Regions from separate parts of the Homo sapiens genome. Here all the other regions are linked to region 1. The links are contacts of gene promoters, found by promoter capture Hi-C in blood cells and fetal thymus (Javierre and others, 2016). All regions are on one chromosome and are shown on one strand. The core of a region is centred on a gene start or on the middle of the fragment in contact, and the rest is flanking DNA. Distances in the headings are between cores, read along the strand shown.

What was found. The method cuts DNA at HindIII sites, captures the fragments that hold promoters and counts their contacts. A CHiCAGO score of 5 or more calls a contact.
Region 2: the fragment with the promoter of OR5B17 here is called in contact with the fragment with the promoter of OR9Q1 in region 1 in 16 of 17 cell types (erythroblasts, M2 macrophages, monocytes and 13 more); the score reaches 11.9 in erythroblasts.
Region 3: a contact is called between a fragment that was not itself captured here and the fragment with the promoter of OR9Q1 in region 1, in 1 of 17 cell types (endothelial precursors). The highest score is 8.2, in endothelial precursors.
Region 4: the fragment with the promoter of OR5B2 here is called in contact with the fragment with the promoter of OR9Q1 in region 1 in 17 of 17 cell types (activated CD4 T cells, M1 macrophages, naive CD8 T cells and 14 more); the score reaches 18.3 in activated CD4 T cells.
Region 5: a contact is called between a fragment that was not itself captured here and the fragment with the promoter of OR9Q1 in region 1, in 1 of 17 cell types (endothelial precursors). The highest score is 9.0, in endothelial precursors.

What each region holds. Positions count from the first base shown.
Region 1 is chr11:58,022,286-58,025,480 of GRCh38, forward strand. It overlaps OR9Q1 (olfactory receptor family 9 subfamily Q member 1), which reads left to right and starts at 1,596. Exons shown (of 3, transcript NM_001005212.4): 1 at 1,596-1,819. It overlaps LOC107984331 (a long non-coding RNA gene), which reads right to left and starts at 2,134. Exons shown (of 3, transcript XR_001748218.1): 1 at 1,802-2,134; 2 at 555-739. The HindIII fragment of the contact is 4,257 bases long and covers 541-3,195 here.
Region 2 is chr11:58,357,579-58,360,775 of GRCh38, forward strand. It overlaps OR5B17 (olfactory receptor family 5 subfamily B member 17), which reads right to left and starts at 1,491. Exons shown (of 1, transcript NM_001005489.2): 1 at 546-1,491. The coding sequence starts at 1,491. The coding sequence ends at 547. The HindIII fragment of the contact is 4,652 bases long and covers 1-2,030 here.
Region 3 is chr11:58,522,520-58,526,125 of GRCh38, forward strand. No RefSeq gene overlaps it. Among named protein-coding and RNA genes, the nearest start is that of OR5B21, 16 kb to the left of the region's middle. RefSeq lists a silencer at 2,077-2,371. The HindIII fragment of the contact is 3,138 bases long and covers 283-3,420 here.
Region 4 is chr11:58,426,113-58,429,542 of GRCh38, forward strand. It overlaps OR5B2 (olfactory receptor family 5 subfamily B member 2), which reads right to left and starts at 2,009. Exons shown (of 3, transcript NM_001005566.3): 1 at 1,907-2,009; 2 at 510-564. The HindIII fragment of the contact is 6,968 bases long and covers 1-3,430 here.
Region 5 is chr11:58,503,410-58,506,861 of GRCh38, forward strand. It overlaps LOC105369313 (a long non-coding RNA gene), which reads right to left. Exons shown (of 5, transcript XR_007062673.1): 3 at 2,060-2,133. OR5B21 (olfactory receptor family 5 subfamily B member 21) reads right to left here. Exons shown (of 1, transcript NM_001005218.3): 1 at 3,398-3,452. Among named protein-coding and RNA genes, the nearest start is that of OR5B21, 3.0 kb to the right of the region's middle. The HindIII fragment of the contact is 3,170 bases long and covers 383-3,452 here.

The DNA of each region.
Region 1 (3,195 bases), core at 346-2,845:
CCTCAAGTGATCCACCCACCTCGGCCTCCCAAAGTGCTGGGGTTACAGGTATGAGCCACCACACCCGGCCCAAAAGCTCTTTTACAGAGTCATTGTGGTTTTAAATATCAATTCAGTTTTCAAGTGAGAAAATGGAGGCACACAGAATTCAACTGATTTGCTTAAGCTCTTATAGAGTAGGGGTGCCGAGGGACTTTGTGGGGTTTTAGTTCTCCTTCATCTCCATCTGCCTCCTCAAGCCACCTCAAACCTACAATCTAAACAAAATCAATTTGCTTTTGTTATTCCAGGGCAGCTTCATGACCATTCCCAGAGTCCCACCAGATGGCCATTCCCATGCTGTCCCTTTATTGAAATTCTGTGGTCATCGCATAGTCCATAAGCAATAGAAGCAAAAGAGTAAGCAGGTTTTACCAGAGTGTACCTTTAAAGTTTCAAAGAACCCGCACATCCACTATCTCATCAATTCACAGAATGTTCTGAGAGACAACAAGAATAGATATTATTGCTGCCTAGAGATTAAGAGCTAGAAGCTCAGAAAGCTTGATTCTCACCTTGGTTCCTGTCTGCTATAGTGGACTCTCTGGCTTGGTTTGGGTCTGGGGTCTCTGTCACATATATGGCTGGAGAAGCCTCCCACTTATTTTCTTATACCTCAGTTTCCCATTTGTTCCCATCATAGGCAGACTATATGTCAGTAGCTTTGAGGAACAGATTGTATCTGCTCAGTATTGAAGTCCTGGAATAATGAGAGAAGCGCCCAGTTAATTGATCAGATTTTATTTTAGGAATATCACCCTCCCTGGGGAGGTGGTATGATGGAAAGATGGTGGGCTCTGGAGTCAGACTGGGCTGGATTCTCATCTGGACTCTGTCACTTACTAGCTGGTTGAAGCAGGGATTTTGAGAGCCCCACATACTAGGTCCTTTCCTCTTCCCAGCTACCTGGCAACTAAGCAAACCTAGGGCTTGGTGGAACAGAGTTTGAAAACAGCTGATAGAGTACAGCTTTCCGGGAAATTTAGAATTAAATTCTGTAGCTAAGAAAAAGAAATTATATGTAGAAATCAATTCAATTTGCCTCCCACCCAAGGCCATGAGAGCAGGCTGCTCCAGATATACAAGACATCATTCCTGCAGGCATTGTCAGTCTTGTAGTCCGTTGACAGTAATTGCATGGACAACACCCAAATTGATTGACTTTTCTGTAAGTATTGTTGAACTTCCTTTTCCTTAAATTTCCTTAAAAACAGGTAGCTAGAAATGGAAAGGAAACTAAGTACGCTGCCAACGTACAATCAGGAGCATGCAGCCACCCTTTTATTACATCAGTATATATTTATTGCATGTAGACTACATGTCAGTGACTTTGGCATTAGCAACACAGTAATGAACAAACAAACAAAGGCACTATCTTCAAGGAGCTTCCTTTTGTGTGTGTGTGTGTGTGTGTGTGCGTGATGTTATAGACAAACAAATAAATATCTACCAGATGGCAATGAAGCTGTGACCCAAAAAATCAAACTGAGAAGAGGGTCAGAGAGTGAAAGGAACTGCGTTTTCAGATAGGTGGTCAGAAAGGGCCTCTCTGTTAAGGTGGCCCTTGTGCAGGGAATTGAAGAAGTGCAGGAGGATGCCACACAGAGATGGTAGAGGGAGCGAAAGGAGCAAAGGCCCTAACTTTCCCTTAATGATGTCTCCTTCCATCTTTAGTCCAGCCCAGCAATGTACATGTTATCCTTCCCGTTTGAAGATGAAGACACTGAGGCTCAGAAAGATCAAACGCCTTTCCCAAACTCACAGCTACGGCCTGACGGAGGTAGGGTCAAATGCAGCTCCACTGATTTCAGAGACGGTGCTGTTAACACAGGGGGCTGTCTGCATGTTGGAAAGTGAGATGTGCTGTTGCTGTCACGTTGCAGTGGGAGTGGGGAAGCAGGCTGTGATGAGCTAGACCCAAGAGGAATCAGAGAGCAGGTCTCCGGGCTTCATCCTGGGCATCTCCTAGCCCCGCTGTCTGTCTCATAACACCCACCCACTGCGCCTGCTCACCTCGGTTTGTTGGCTGTTTTTTTTTGAAATCATTTCCTGGATCTTAGTAAGTTTATTTTCCAGTTCCTTTCACTTTTTGGGACTAGGCCCCCAGATGCCAGGTGGAGAGAACTGAAAGAGGGAGAAATCCAGCGTTTCTCACCAGGCTTGTCACGTAGCTACACAAGCAAATAGCTACAGGAACCAAGTTTCAATTTTCGTGCATGGGCCTCAAACTGTTTTTCCATATTTGTTAGGGAAAATCTTGGCCAGGGAGCACCGTCTTTTGAGGACACCAAATTGGGCCAAGTTCCTGTGCGGCCTTTCTCCTTATTTAGTGATTGCCCCGTGTGACCCTCTCCTCTCTGGCTGACCTCTTTTTTCCTGCATGGCACTTGGTGGATAAAGTTCCCTGAACCTTGGAGAGGAAGCGGATGCTGTTAATAGCCCTGGGAGTGTGACTGTGCTTTGCAGCTCACTGGAGCCTGTGGGATATTCCTCCAGCCTTGGCGGGGCTCCGAGCTGCAGGGAAATTAACCTCAGAGTCAGGGCAGGGAGCCAGGGTTGCAGGCACGTTGTCATTGGGTGAAATGAGATGGCAGAGGAAAATGGCACGGTGTGGAGGCTTTTTTTGTCAGAAGCTCTGGGGTTTGGCTCTTCTCTGTGCCATGTAGTTCTTTGATCTTGCCCAAGTTTACTTACTGTCTCTCTGAGCCTTCAGTGATTTCAATTGCGTGAAAACCAAGACAAATAACACCTCTATATCAAGAATAGTTCATAGGATCATAGTACAATATTGTGGGGATTAAGCCAGATGGTATCAGCCCATCAGAATCTAGCCCATGGGAGGGGCTCCGTAAATGACCCTTTCTTTTTGAGACGGAGTCTTGCCCTGTCGCCAGGCTGGAGTGCAGTGGCGCGATCTCAGCTCACTGCAACCTCCGCCTCCCGGGTTCAAGAGATTCTCCTGCCTCAGCCTCCTGAGTAGCTGGGGTGCCCGCCGTGCTACTATAGGGTGTGTCCTACAGGCGCACGCCACCATGACCAGCTACTTTTTGTATTTTTGGTAGAGACGGGGTTTCACCGTGTTGGCCAGGATGGTCTTGATTTCTTGACCTTGTGATCCGCCCGCTCAGCCTCCCAAGGTGTTGGGATTGCAGGCGT
Region 2 (3,197 bases), core at 241-2,740, 340 kb after region 1:
TGACCTCAAGTGATCCACCTGCCTTGGCCTCTCAAAGTGCTGGGATTACAGGCATGAGCCACTGGGCCAGGTCATGATTTTATATTTTAAATAGCAAACAGAGATTCTTTTATTTCTTTCTCTCAGTTCAAGATGTCTTTGATAGTCATAGGCTAAGTTTAAAAAAAAAAGAATTATCTCTGCCTTTTAATTCTAATATATTATTATTCTAATATAGTTATTTACCATTTATAAATTGTCATATGAACAAGCTGTACCAAATACCTAAAATTATTAATGCCTGAAATATTAGTTTATTAAGAAACAGTAATGACTCATAGTTGGCTAAAATATGACAAGAGACAACACATATTTCATTAAACTCCATGAGAAATTGTCATCGTATTTTTCTAACTCGTGGATACTTAGAACTGTTTCTCAACTAAAGACAAAAATAATATTAGATGAAATTTTACATTCTATATACCATATAGCATTTTAACATTTGAGTTATTGTATAAAGTAGATCTAAGTGAGATAAAATAACATTGTGATGATTTTGCATCATTAAAAGACTGAATCTAGAGAATATTTTGCCTTCTCAACAACCTTCATGAATGCATTCTTCACGTCTTTGTTCCTCAGGGTATAGACTATAGGACTGAGCATGGGGATGATCATAGTGTAGAACACAGATGCAATTTTGTCTGTGTCCATGGAATGACTGGAACTTGGTCGTATGTACATGATGATGACAGTTATATAAAATAAGAAAATGGCAATGAGGTGAGAACCACAGGTAGATAAAGGCTTCTGGTATCCCTTACCTGTGTGCCTCTTAAGAATGGTGATCAATATGAACAGATAGGAAATCAAGGTAACAAGAAGTGCAAAAAAGACATTAAAACTTGATATAAGAACAAGAATCAACTCACTAATGTGTTTCTCAGAGCAGGTCAGAGTAATGACTGCTGGTTTGTCACAGAAAAAGTGATGAATCACATTGGACATGCAGAAAGAGAGGCGAAATGTATCTCCAATTTGGATAGAAGCATTCAGAAAACCAATGACATAACAGCCTATAGCCAGACAAGCACACACACGTGTTGTCATGGTGGTGGTATAATGTAGGGGGTTACACACTGCTGCGTAGCGGTCATAGGCCATTGAGGACAAGAGGTAATTTTCCACAGTGGCAAAGACTGCACAAAAGAACATCTGAGCAGCACAGGCACTGTAGGAGATGGCTTTGTCTTCTATAAGCAACCCAGTTAAAACCTTTGGAGTGACAGCTGAGGAGTAACCAATGCCTGCAAGAGACAGGTTACTGAGAAAAAAGTACATGGGAGTGTGGAGATGAGAGTCCAGCAGGATTAATATGATCATCCCCAGGTTCCCAGTCAGAGTGATGAGGTAGATGAGGGTAAACATGATAAAGAGGGGAACCTGTAGTTCTGGGGCATTGGTTAGACCAAGCAGGATGAATTCACTCACCTCTGTATTATTCTCCATGGATGTTATTTTAGAATCACAAGATACTCTGTAGCAAGGAGAGATAAAAAAGAAAAACCCTGTGATGAACAAAACAGAGTTGCACAAAACTGAAATGTATGTGTTATTTTATTATAGCAATGATTTGTTTTCTATATTTCCTAGATCAAAATTATGGATATGAAAACACAATTTAGTGGATAACTTATCTATACAGTAATAGACTTTTGAAGAAAAAGGGTCTTCGTGGATCATCTTTCCAGCTTCTTAATTTTGTGTCTGAGTAAATGGAGTCATAGGAAGGGAATAATGAGTTGTCCAATGTCACATGCCTGAAGTGAATCTATCTCCCAAATAATATGTTTTTTGAATCTAACATCTTAAACACACTTATAGTTGTCTCATGCCAGATGCTTTATATGTACATCCTCATAGAATTCTCTCATTAATCCTATTATTTAATTAGTTATTATTGCCAATTTATACATGAAGTATCTTGGTAGAAAAAAAGAGTTTGAATAATTTATTCAAGATTACACAAGCACCAGTAGATAGAACCAAGCTTTAGACACAATCAGGGTGGTTCCCAACCTAAATTAAAAGAATTAAAATTCTTTTAATGAATTTGAATTATTTTAAATGTTAATCTATTTATATGTACTCATTCTATCTATTATACCAAGCATAACATATGAAGTTGCATAGTAGAGCAATGCACAAATAAATGCATACTAGATGAAGTGGAATAAATGCAGCATTAATGTCATGTGCAACCAACAAAGCCAATTCTGCAGAGAAGATATAGCATTGGGTATAAAATCTAGGACTCTAAGAAGAGGTAGATTTGTATTAACTCATAAGCCCTAACATTTACTACTTGGGAGACACTGGTCTTAATCTAACTTCCTTGAATCTCATTTTATCCATTAGTCAAATGAAGATGATATTAGGACTTATGTCAAGAGATTATTTTGAGAGTTAAATGAGATAATGCTCAGCTGTTGGCAAAATGTGGGCACTCAGCACAGTCCTGATGAGTGCTAGCTATAATATTATTATTAGGATGGAATGGTGGTGCATATGTTGGTGTAGAACACATAGAGGTGACACACAGGGCTGAAGGTGTGGGTGGGTTTTCAAGTTGGCAGTTTTACTCTGTCTGATCTGTATTTTCTTACACACTATGTCCAGTCTTTTGTTTCCTTCAGCATTTCTCACTCTATCCATTCTTTGCCAGGTGAATGACTGTGTCAGCCATCTAGCATGAGAACCCAGGGATCTTCAAGTCCTGTTGTGTTTAATTTCTCCCTTTCAAACTACATTTTACCTTGTGTTGAAACAATCCCCTTTTATCTTAGACACATTCTTCCTGTCATTACTCTCAACACTTAGCAGGATATCAGATATTGAGGGTTGGAGGTTCGTAGTCTTGGGGGCTGACTGTAGGCTGCAGATGTGTTTATGCACAATCTTTTTATTTGAATTTGAATCTGTCAGAAGGACATTCATTTCCTCATAACCACTATTGATTGTCTATCATTTTTCTCCTGCCCCCAGTACACATCAGTTGACACTTCTAGAATTCAAATTATTTGTTTGCCAAAAAACTACCCACATAATAATATAAGCTACAATTTTTATTGTTTTTCTTTAAAAATTTACTATGTTCTATGACAACTGAAAGGTTCTCACTGTACCTACCTGGATAATCTAGGATAATCCTACCA
Region 3 (3,606 bases), core at 602-3,101, 500 kb after region 1:
CAGGATAAATGTAAATTGATTTCTCTTATAATCGTCTAATTTTTCTTCCTTTTTTGTTTGCTAGTGGGGTATCAGGATGTTTTAAAACTAGTTTTCACTATAAAGAGTATTGCAGTAATATCAAATACGTAATAGTTCTCTCTGGATTATAATTAAACAAAGTAGCATGAATACCATCATTTCCAAAACAATTTTAAATCTTAGAGGATGACAACACCCTCACAACCTTTTTCTTCCCCTTTGTAATAGTGACAGATACTGCAAAATTGGACAGGAGCAAGAAGCTTGTACTCTAAATATGCGAGCTATCCACAGGATGACTTAACCTTAAACTACAGAGTTTCACTGTGCTCTGGTGTAAAAAGCATCAAGAAGTGATCAAACACTATTTTTGTGTATTAGTTTTTCATGACGATATACAATATACGTTCTGTACCAACACTGAGTTTATTTGTTCAATGTAAACAAAAAAGAGAATTTATTTGCTCACATAATTTCCTAGTCTATGGTTAAGATGCTGCTATGGTAGAACTGAGTGGCTCAAAAAAAGAAAACACAGCCTCTCCATTACTTGGTTCTACGTTCCACTGTGCTGGCCTCTTTCTCAGACAGCCTCCCCCAAGTGATGATAAAAATATTTATCAGCAGCAATGGGTTTTTATTATCCGCACAACTAGAATTCCAACGAATGGGAATGTTCTTTCTGAATAAATCTAGTAAAGGTCATTGGCTTTGCTGAGGTCACATGTCTATCCCTGATCCAATCACCTTCCTTCAGAAGAACAAAGTACTTTTATTGGTCAGACCTGGGACTGTACCTATTTCTGAGGCTGAGGTTAAAGTCAGCCTTGCCTAAACACATGGACCAAGAATGGGAGATGCAGTTCTTTGTGGAGAAACTAGACTGTGGGGAAAAACAGCTCAGAAATTCACTCCCCTTTCATTTCACGTCCCATCCTCAATTATATCCAATAATATTATTCAACATAGCATATCAAAGTCCAAAAACATTAAAATCCAAAATCAAATTCTCTAAGTTAAAGTTTAGAGAAAGTAAAGCCTTCTTTGATTCCTTGGTCTGTTCATTTTCAGCTTTAGGAGTTTTTCCAGTAACACCTGTGATCTGAGATATCTCTCGCTAGAATGGAGGTACTTATCCCAGGAAAAATGTTATTCCCATAATACAGTATTTATTGTGATTTAATGATATCCAAAATAGGAAGGGAAGATGGATGGCTCTCAACAGGGTGCCAGGAAGTTTATGCAATTGTCCGTAATCCATGGTCTATGAACCTAAACACAGTTAGGAGACTTCTCCCCACGGAAAATCAATTTAGGCACTATACGCTGACTATATCTAAGGTAGGGGAATGTCCTACATAAACTGTCTCCTTTCTTATAAATTTGAGACAACACTGCCTTCTGGCAAAGTTATAAATTTGCAACAAGTACAACCCAAGCACCAGCTTTTACCTGAGATTTCTTTCTTTTTTATCCTGTGGATCCCAAGAGATTTCCATTTCCCCACTGAGCTCTGTGTTCCCAGCACTTAATGTGCTGCACTGATGGTACCTAGTAACACAACCTCCACAATATTTTGGGGACAGGCAATCTCTTTTTCAGTGTCATATTTCAGTGGCTGCCACCACTGCCTTATTGAGGACGTGCTTATGCCTAAGACACTCGCCTCTAAAGGAAGCTGCTACTCTTTCTCACCTTGATTTCAGCTGCAAGATCTCCTTTTCCAGACTGCCAAACTGAAGGTGCTTTTGATGCTTCTCAGTGGTGCGCCCCTAGGGGCCCAGGAAGAGCAGTGCCACTGCCGCATGTTCCTCAGGACACCAGCATTCCTGGCTCTCTCCTCTGCCTTTGGGTTCTGTAAAGTTCTTGGACATGATCCCTCAGGATACTGACAATGCCTGCTTGCTTACCTTCTACATTACCTTGAAACTCAGAAACTCCAATATTTTCACTTTTGAACACACGAATTCAAGATTCATTGTCCTCTTCCCGCTTCTTACCAATATCCAGCTTTTAAAGTATTCACATCTCCTCCACAAAGCCCTTGTGCTTTCGGGAAACTTAGTCCTGCTTGTAACTTTGGAAATAATTCAGTTTGGTTTAAGCCAAGCTGCAGAATCCATTCCCCCAGCAAAAATTACTGGTATGTGACCTAGGCTAGACCAGTGAGGATGAATCCCAGAACTTTTGCTTGCAAATGCTCGATAAAAGCACTCTTGCTCCCCCTACTGGTTATGAAACAAGAAGCATGCGCTGGCAGCCATCCTACAACTCCAAGAAGAGTGTGTGATAGAACTTGGATGGAAAAATAATTGTTGTCTTTATCAAAGTATTACCTTGGAAGAGACTAAATTTACTTCAAAGAAAAACTGACCAAACTAATTGAGGGACTCCCCTTTGAGAATACAGTGCCAACTCTAGAGCATATTCCTTTCTATATGTTTATATTCACTGGTGGAAAATCCCTGTCCTGTGAGGGTGGGTTTTATTTTTTAAACATCCTAGAAGTTACTCAAAACCAAAAGTAAATAAGTACGTGATCAATTTTAGTAATGGCATTTCCAGGGTTTTTAAAAAGCAGAACTTTTTACTTGTGAGTAGTTTCCTTATTGCTAAAACACTGGTCCTGAAGTCAGTATCTCTTTTTGAGCAAATAAAACCACTTCCGTTCAATGTGGGAAGAAAGTGTTTTCACTTCTTAATTACATCTTAGTGAACTCTGGATTTTCTTTGACATTTAAAAATAGTTAAATTCTATTGAATCTCAAAATAGCTAATCCTTTTTAAAAAAGTTTTAGCACCTGTACATTTCTTTTTAAGGGCTAAAACTCCAAGTTTATTTTGTCAAATTGCCAAGGCAACCAAGAACATTGCCATATTAACACCTGCGTGTGACATCGTTGAGTGAAGACATTGCAAAGAGGATGTTTAAAAGTTGAATGTGTGTTCTGCATAGTCTGGCGCTCTCAGACAGCCAAACAGGATAGAGGCCAGATGGTTCCGTATCTGTGTGGCCTCCCACATATCTTACATGCATTTGGAGTTCCTATTTTATAGAATTAACTGTTGCCAATTCCTTGTAACTCTCACAACCCCCTTATTATCCATTCCAACAAAGGACATAGATATAATAAAGTTTGGCAAGAAACATTTAATCCATTTCAGCTCTCCCAAGTAGTACTATTCCTCTATCAATCTAAAGACATCAAATTTTGTCCTATTTTTAAAAATACCTCCAGTGAAGGAGTTTTCGCCAGTAACTTATCTCAGAATCAAGGATTCTAAGAGTCTGGTTTTTGTTATAACAAATAATCACACAATTATTTTTAAGACCACGGGAAGAAAGATATTGTACTGATCTTCTCAATATCCCTTTTGCAGAAAGATTAGTCCTTGTGAAGCTTACTTTTATAAAAAGTAAACTGTAGGACAGTAAACTGACAGGACATAAGAAAATCAGATTCTCTGATAACCTGACAAGCTTTTCTAAACATTTACTTATAATATTTTGAGATGAACAAATGATTAAGAGGAATTTTTCTTTGAGTCTTGGCTTTCCTAATTCTAGATAATAATCATTTGAGC
Region 4 (3,430 bases), core at 759-3,258, 400 kb after region 1:
ATTTTCTAAATGTTCTTCTAAGCACATGGATTTTTTGTGTGTATAAGGGTTTTGTTTTTTGTTTTTTTGCTTTTATTTTAAGTTCAGGGATACATGTACAGGCTTGTTACATAGGTAAATTTGCATCATGGGGGTTTGTTATACAGATTATTTCATCACTCAGGTATTAGCCTGGGACCCATTAGTTATTTTTTTTCTGATCCTCTCCCTCCTCCTATCCTCCACCCTTCGATAGGCACCAATGTCTGTTGCCCTCTAAGCATATGAATTTTAAATGATGAGAATAATACCATCTTCTATTATTTGAATAAAATCACCATTTTCCCAATTAATGGAGATTGTTGTAACACCTGGACTGTGGCTAAATAGCGTGATAGCATGAAAATATTAAAAGCTGGGAAACTGAACTCTGATTACTCAATGGGAAAATGTTTGCCCTTGAACTTTTATATAACACATATTCTATTACTACAACCTAAACAGACCGTAGAACAGAGCTAGAAACTTACCTTGCTCTTCAAGGAAGATGACACACTTTCAGTTGGTATCTTCAAATTGCAAGTCCTACTCAAAGAAGAAAGAAAAGCTCCTATTTAAGAAGTTATTATTTAATGTCTAGTCACAAATATTGAAGTTCTCTAGAGGGAGGGAGATTTAAGGAAAAAGTAATGACTAGGTGGAGATTAGAAAATATTCTCCAACTTGTCACACAGGGCTGCTGCTGTGAGGAAAAATAGAAGTCTCTGAATGCACTCTGTAAAGTCCTAAAGAGCTGTAAGAAGGGATCATCGTATCTGCAATGAACATCATTTTTAGCTGGGGGTCTTATCCCTGGCCATTGTTGCAGACTCAGAGTAATATACCAGTGTGAAATAAGGCCACTTAGTACAATGGACAACCTTTTACACTGAGATCAATAAATGATCACCAAAAGGTGACACACAGGGTGGAACCTCTAACATGATGTTAAATAGAGTCATGTTGGGATGTTAGAGACCAATGACTGGGAACTAACAATAATTGAGGAATTTGAACGTACATAAAGTTCTCAGGGGACAAGTTACCCATGAGAATAACCACAGTCTCTCACTCCAATCATCTAGAGAAGCAATAATTAAACTGCATATGAAAGCCTGGTTCCATTTTCTTAGGAAGAACACCAGTGTATTTACTTTACTCAGGGTTATTTCTTCTTGGTAATGTGAACATCTTCAGAAAAGATTCATCATTAACTTTCCTGGCAGAAATCAGACAGAATCATGAGTGGCATAATGGAAACTAGGCTAAAGTGTTATGTAAGTTTCGTTGGCCGATGGCAGCATAACTTCACAAAGTTCATATTGAGATTATAGGTTGTATAAACACTTACGCACTTCAGTTCTCTCATTAATAAAACAGAGATGAGTATTTTTTTTCTGAGATAGCAGAATGGATGCTTTGCCAGAATCCTTGCTCACTTGGAAATAGCAAGTGGTGTGTAGAGATTCACACTGTGAATTTGCATCCAAGTAGAAACATGATTGTTCAATATAAAAGTGAAAGAAAACTTTGTATACTGCTGAAAACAAGACAGACAGCAGCCCAAATGGAAAACTGTGAATCAGTCCCTCCATATGTGAGAGGGGGAGTGCTCCACAATACACATACCCACCAGGAAGCCAGGCAACCTAGGCTATCGGGAACTTTTTGAGTTTCCCAAAACCTGGATCAGACTTGGGGAACAGTCAAGGGACTGTGAGAAGGAAGAGCACTGGGAAGTACCCCACATGCACTCTCAGACTTAAGGACCAATGGAAGGAGGTCATTCCTGATGCTAACTCATAGTGGGTTGCACAGGAACCTGCCAGCTAGCATTGGTGTCAGTCACTGGTTTGTAGAGTTGTTAGCCAGAGATTTGTGATCTTACCTTGATTGGAGGAGGAATCCACATGGCCAGAATGGAGAGGCAAGAATAGCATGGGCTTCAGCTGTGGACAATGGAATTGGGAATCCACCTTGCAGGACAAGACCAGGAGGGTTTGAGTCTGAGAGGAGTGGTTTTGACCACGGTAGCAAGTTTTGCAGCCTGAGGCATTTTCACACTCTAAAGGCAAAGTGCATTTGAGTTGGCTAACTGTCCCAACGCACTGCTAGTGTCCAGCTGTGGGAAAGAGCCCTGCTGGGTTTAATGAGAGCAAACTGGGTCTTACTACCCCTTGATAGGCCATGGAGCCTAGGATGTACTCTTTCCCTCATGGGGTCATTGGCATAGCAGCAGTTGCTCTGCTTATTGCTGGAGCGTTTCTTCAGAGGTCTGAGGATTGCTCTCTGAACCTTGTAAGGGCCAGCACTTGTACATGCCATCGTGGGGTTCAAGTGCAGACTTGCACAACCCAACACTGCCCAGCTTTGCCCTCTTGCCTTGGATACAAAGCATGGAACCAGGACCACTGTGTGTTCCATAGCCCAAATCATTATCTGGGACACCCAAACCAGTACACTAAGGATATTTACAAACAAGAAAATCATACAGAGTCTACACCAGTTTAGACAGCCAGAAACAAAGCCAAATAACCCTACTCAGCATACATTATAGTCACATTCCCAAGAAAAATAAGTCACACCCCAATGAAAGTAAATTCAATAATAGAAGTGACTAATTCTCCAGATGCAAAGAAATCAGGATAATAATACTGGAAGTATGAAAAACAAAGTGCTATAACACCTCCAAAGGAGCACAGTAATTCTCTAGCAATGGATTTGAACCAATAAGAAATCTTCAAAATGTCAGATAAAGAATTCAAAATACTGATTTTAAAGAAGTTCTATAAGACATAAGAGAAAACTGAATACCAATGCAAAGACATCAGAAAATCAATTCCTGATATGAGCTAGAAATTTACCAAGAAGGTAGAGATCTTAAAGAAACAAACAACTTCTGGAAATGAAAATTTCACTGAAAGAATTATGAAGAACAGTTGAAAGCCTTAAGAATAGACTAGAACGAGCAGAGAAGAGAATCTCAAAATTTGAAGACAGGTCTTTTGAATTAATTCAATCAGACAAAAATAAAGAAAGGAGAATAAAGAAGAACAAACAAAGCCTTTAAGAAGTATGGGACTACATAAAGCAACCAAACATATGAAGTATAAGTATTTCCAAGGGAGAAGAAAAAGCAAAAAGTTCAGAAACCCTATTTAAGGAAATAATTGACAACAAGTTTCCCGAGTTTGGGAAGAGATTTACACATCCAGATACAATAAGCCCAACAAACTACAGGAAAATACATTGTAAAAAGGACCTCAACATGACATATAGTCATCAGATTGTCTAAAGTCAACATGAAAGAAAAATCCTAAAATCAGCATGAGAAAAGTGTCTAGTCATCTATAAAGAAAACACCATTAGAATAATAGTGGACTTTAAAAGCAGAAACCTTACAAGCCAGAAA
Region 5 (3,452 bases), core at 718-3,217, 480 kb after region 1:
TCTATCAAGACTGAAAACAAATATGCCCTGATCCATTCATGCTCTGTGGAATACTGGGAAAATTCCTGCTGGTAGTTACTGAACATTGAGTCATTAACCTTAAGGTGCATTACATCAGTAAACATATATGCAGGGGGCTTTACTTTGTGGAAGTAGGAATTACATCTTACAGTCTTATTTGTATTCTTCAGAGTGCCTTCCACATGGCAAGGACTCATTATGGAAGAGTGTAAGTGAGTTACACATTAAGTAAGACCTCCATTGAAATTTACTAACGTACTTGGTGACTTATTTTTTCAGAGTCTTGGTCAGGGAAGGCAAAAACTCAGTTTCACACCTCGGTTCCTCTTTTTAACAGTAGACAGGTAAGTTAACTTCTCAAAGCTTTGGTTTCCTCCACTGCAAAACTGAAGCACAAATAACTATATCATGGTGAATAAATGAAGGTAAAAGTATAAAATTTCTTTTTATACCACAAGTACTTTATAAAATATAAAAAAGGGTCAAACAAGATTTGGTTCTTTGTGAGTTTAAGCAAGTTAAACTGTAAAAATCGGGGTTTTTAATTGTGAAATGAGAGGATTGGTTTAGATTAGTTTTAAATTCTTTCAGCTTTTGGCTAAAGAGTCTATGACTCCGCAATTCCAGCTTCAATTGCCAAGGAATTTAATATTTTAATTTTCCACTCCCAATACATAAACCTCAACAAATGCTTTAATGCACAAAGGGAACATCCTATTTAGAATAATTCAATCATAATCCATTTTTGAAAGAATAATCTATCCTGATATAAATAACTGCCCTGATTTATGAATTTTCACATTCTTTTTTGAACATTTCAGGTAGGAAGTCCCTGTGCCTTTATTGCACTGCATTGAGCGGCAGGCCCTACGCACAAGGTCTCTCATTCATCAGACAATTCCTGCAGGGAGCAAGTGGGTGTTGTTATTAACCAAATGGGCATTTAGTCTCCATTTGACAGATTTCCTATGTGGAAGGGAAGAGCTCCTTGCAGTAACGTATACTCTGTGAATTGATGTCTTGCTGGCGACAGGACATCTCCTTCTGAGTAGTTTCTATAAATGAATACCCGTGTAATGTCAGCTTGAAATATGTCTGCTGTAGAGCTGGGAACTTGGAGGGCAGGAAGTTAAACAAGGAATGAAAATAAAAGCTAGGATTTGGATGGGACGAGCTTCACCTATCAGTCCTTGGACTTCCTATTTTTGCTCAGGCAGCTCAAGAGCCAAAATAAGAAGTCCAGGGAGAGCTAAGTGAAGAAAGAGCTAGTATAGAAATCTCAATGGTATGAAATACACATTCATTATGATGGGCACATTCACATACTTAATTTCATATTACCCTCACACTTTATCCTGTATATTGGGTTCAGTAAGACTAAATGACTTTCTTGAGGTCACACAATTGATAAGAACAGTTAGAATTTTCATCCAGCTTTTGATAGTACTCTTTTATACCTATTTACAGTCAGATAGAACACTTGTTTGAGGTGATTTCAACATAAAATATAAATATGTAGACATTGAGCCCTTAAATCTCAGGAGGCCCACATTTTCCTGCCTAAACTGAGGTATAGAGGCATAACAAAATATGTCCATAAGAATGATAAAATGGACTTTGGGGTCTCGATGGGGGAAGGTTGGGAGGGAGGTGAGGAATAAAAGACTATATATTGGGCACACTGCTCGGGTGATGGGCACATTAAAATCTCAGAAACCACCACTAAAGGACTTATCCATGTAACCAAAAACAACCTGTACCCCCAAAACTAATGAAATAAAAATTAAAACCATAAAAGAAATAAACATGCCCAGATACACATCTTAATATATACTGTAATGGTTATGATATATAGACTCTAGACTTTAATTTTTTTATAGAAATCTAAATGGCCTAGTGGTGAGGAAAGTTCCTGCTTGGGCTGGGCATAGAAAGAAGTTGGGAAAGAAAAAGAGGAGAAGGATAAAATGAAGTAAAGAAGGAGGAGCAGGATGAGGAGGGAAAAAAGTCAATTATATCAAGTAGGGAAAATGTGTACCTGAGATTGGAATGCACCCAGTGCTTGGATAGCTGCTTCCCAGGCTCTTCTCCAAATGCAGATACTCTTGAGCTCTGTAGATTTCAATGAGAAAGATTCCTATATGCAGTGGATCCTGGCCTGTAAAGGCTGTTCTTCCTGTGTGTTGCTGAATAGGCCTCATTGCTAAAGAAGAGGGGAGGGAGGGGGCTGAATGGGGGAGGTATAGGTTGTCTAGGCCTTGGGCTCAGAAGCTCCTGATCTTTTCAGGTGATGGCAACCATGTGCCAGAGAAAGCTATTCTCATGTTTCTCATGTTCCATAACTCCTTCTTTGCAATTTTTCCCAGAAGACTTATGATTTATCCTCCTCAGACAGAGGCTGCCCTGTACATAATGGAGCTTGATAATCTGAAAACTAAATTGACATTTTAAGCCAACTGAGTTAGCCAACCAAGATTTCTGGTTTTCATCTATAAGGTCAAAATTAATTTGTTGGGTTTTTTGGGGAGATTTTGAAATCATGATCTATTGTGGTGACTTAGATTAACTGTAGTTATAAACACCATCAAGGAGTTGATACGTGAGAAGTGAAATTAATCACCACTCCCTTCCCACACACACACATTTGCTCACACCATCTAGCACATGAAACAAGACCTGAAGGTGTACTAGCACTGTGCGTCACCGTGCTGTTCCTAAGAAGTAAATTTCCAGGCAGGCTTTTTTATTCTTGTAGCATCTAATTACAGAACACCGGAATGCAATGGAGACCCAGAGGTGAGCTGAATTATTGAAAAAGTAAAAGCAAAGACAGTCCAGAAAGCTATTATATATCTTCATAATAGATTCACCAAACTTAAGGGTGCTAAGAAATGCAAGCATTTAATTCAGAAAACAAATATATTTTTTCATAGCTCTAGGGAAAACTGCTTTTTTTCTCTAAACCTTCTGGAAGTTTTGGTAATTATGTTAGACAGAGACAAGAAACATAAAAGATAGTGTAGGCTCTCCGAAGGAAGTTGTATTTAGTCAGGTTAAAGTTGAAGTAATTCATCTATTAAAGCATTCCCATATTTCTGTATATAACAAGGTGTAATGTTTCCCCAATGATTTAGCAAAAGGGAATGGAAATTACAAAGGCACATGACTAGTGAGTAGGATAGGAATGTGGGTAGAGAAGGGAGAGTAAGGGGTTGGAAAGATTTAATCGTCAGCTACCTGACTCGATCTAGTGCCTTGTCCTTTAAATTACAACTTTCTCTCAAATATCATTTAAAATATTGAAACATCCTTTGTCTACCTCAGAAAGTCCAACTTTCAAACTCGCAGAACAAAAGAATAAAAAAGATACTGTGTGTTCAGTTGATAAAAATGAAGGTGAAATCTTTACACCAAGTTTAATAGTGAATGAA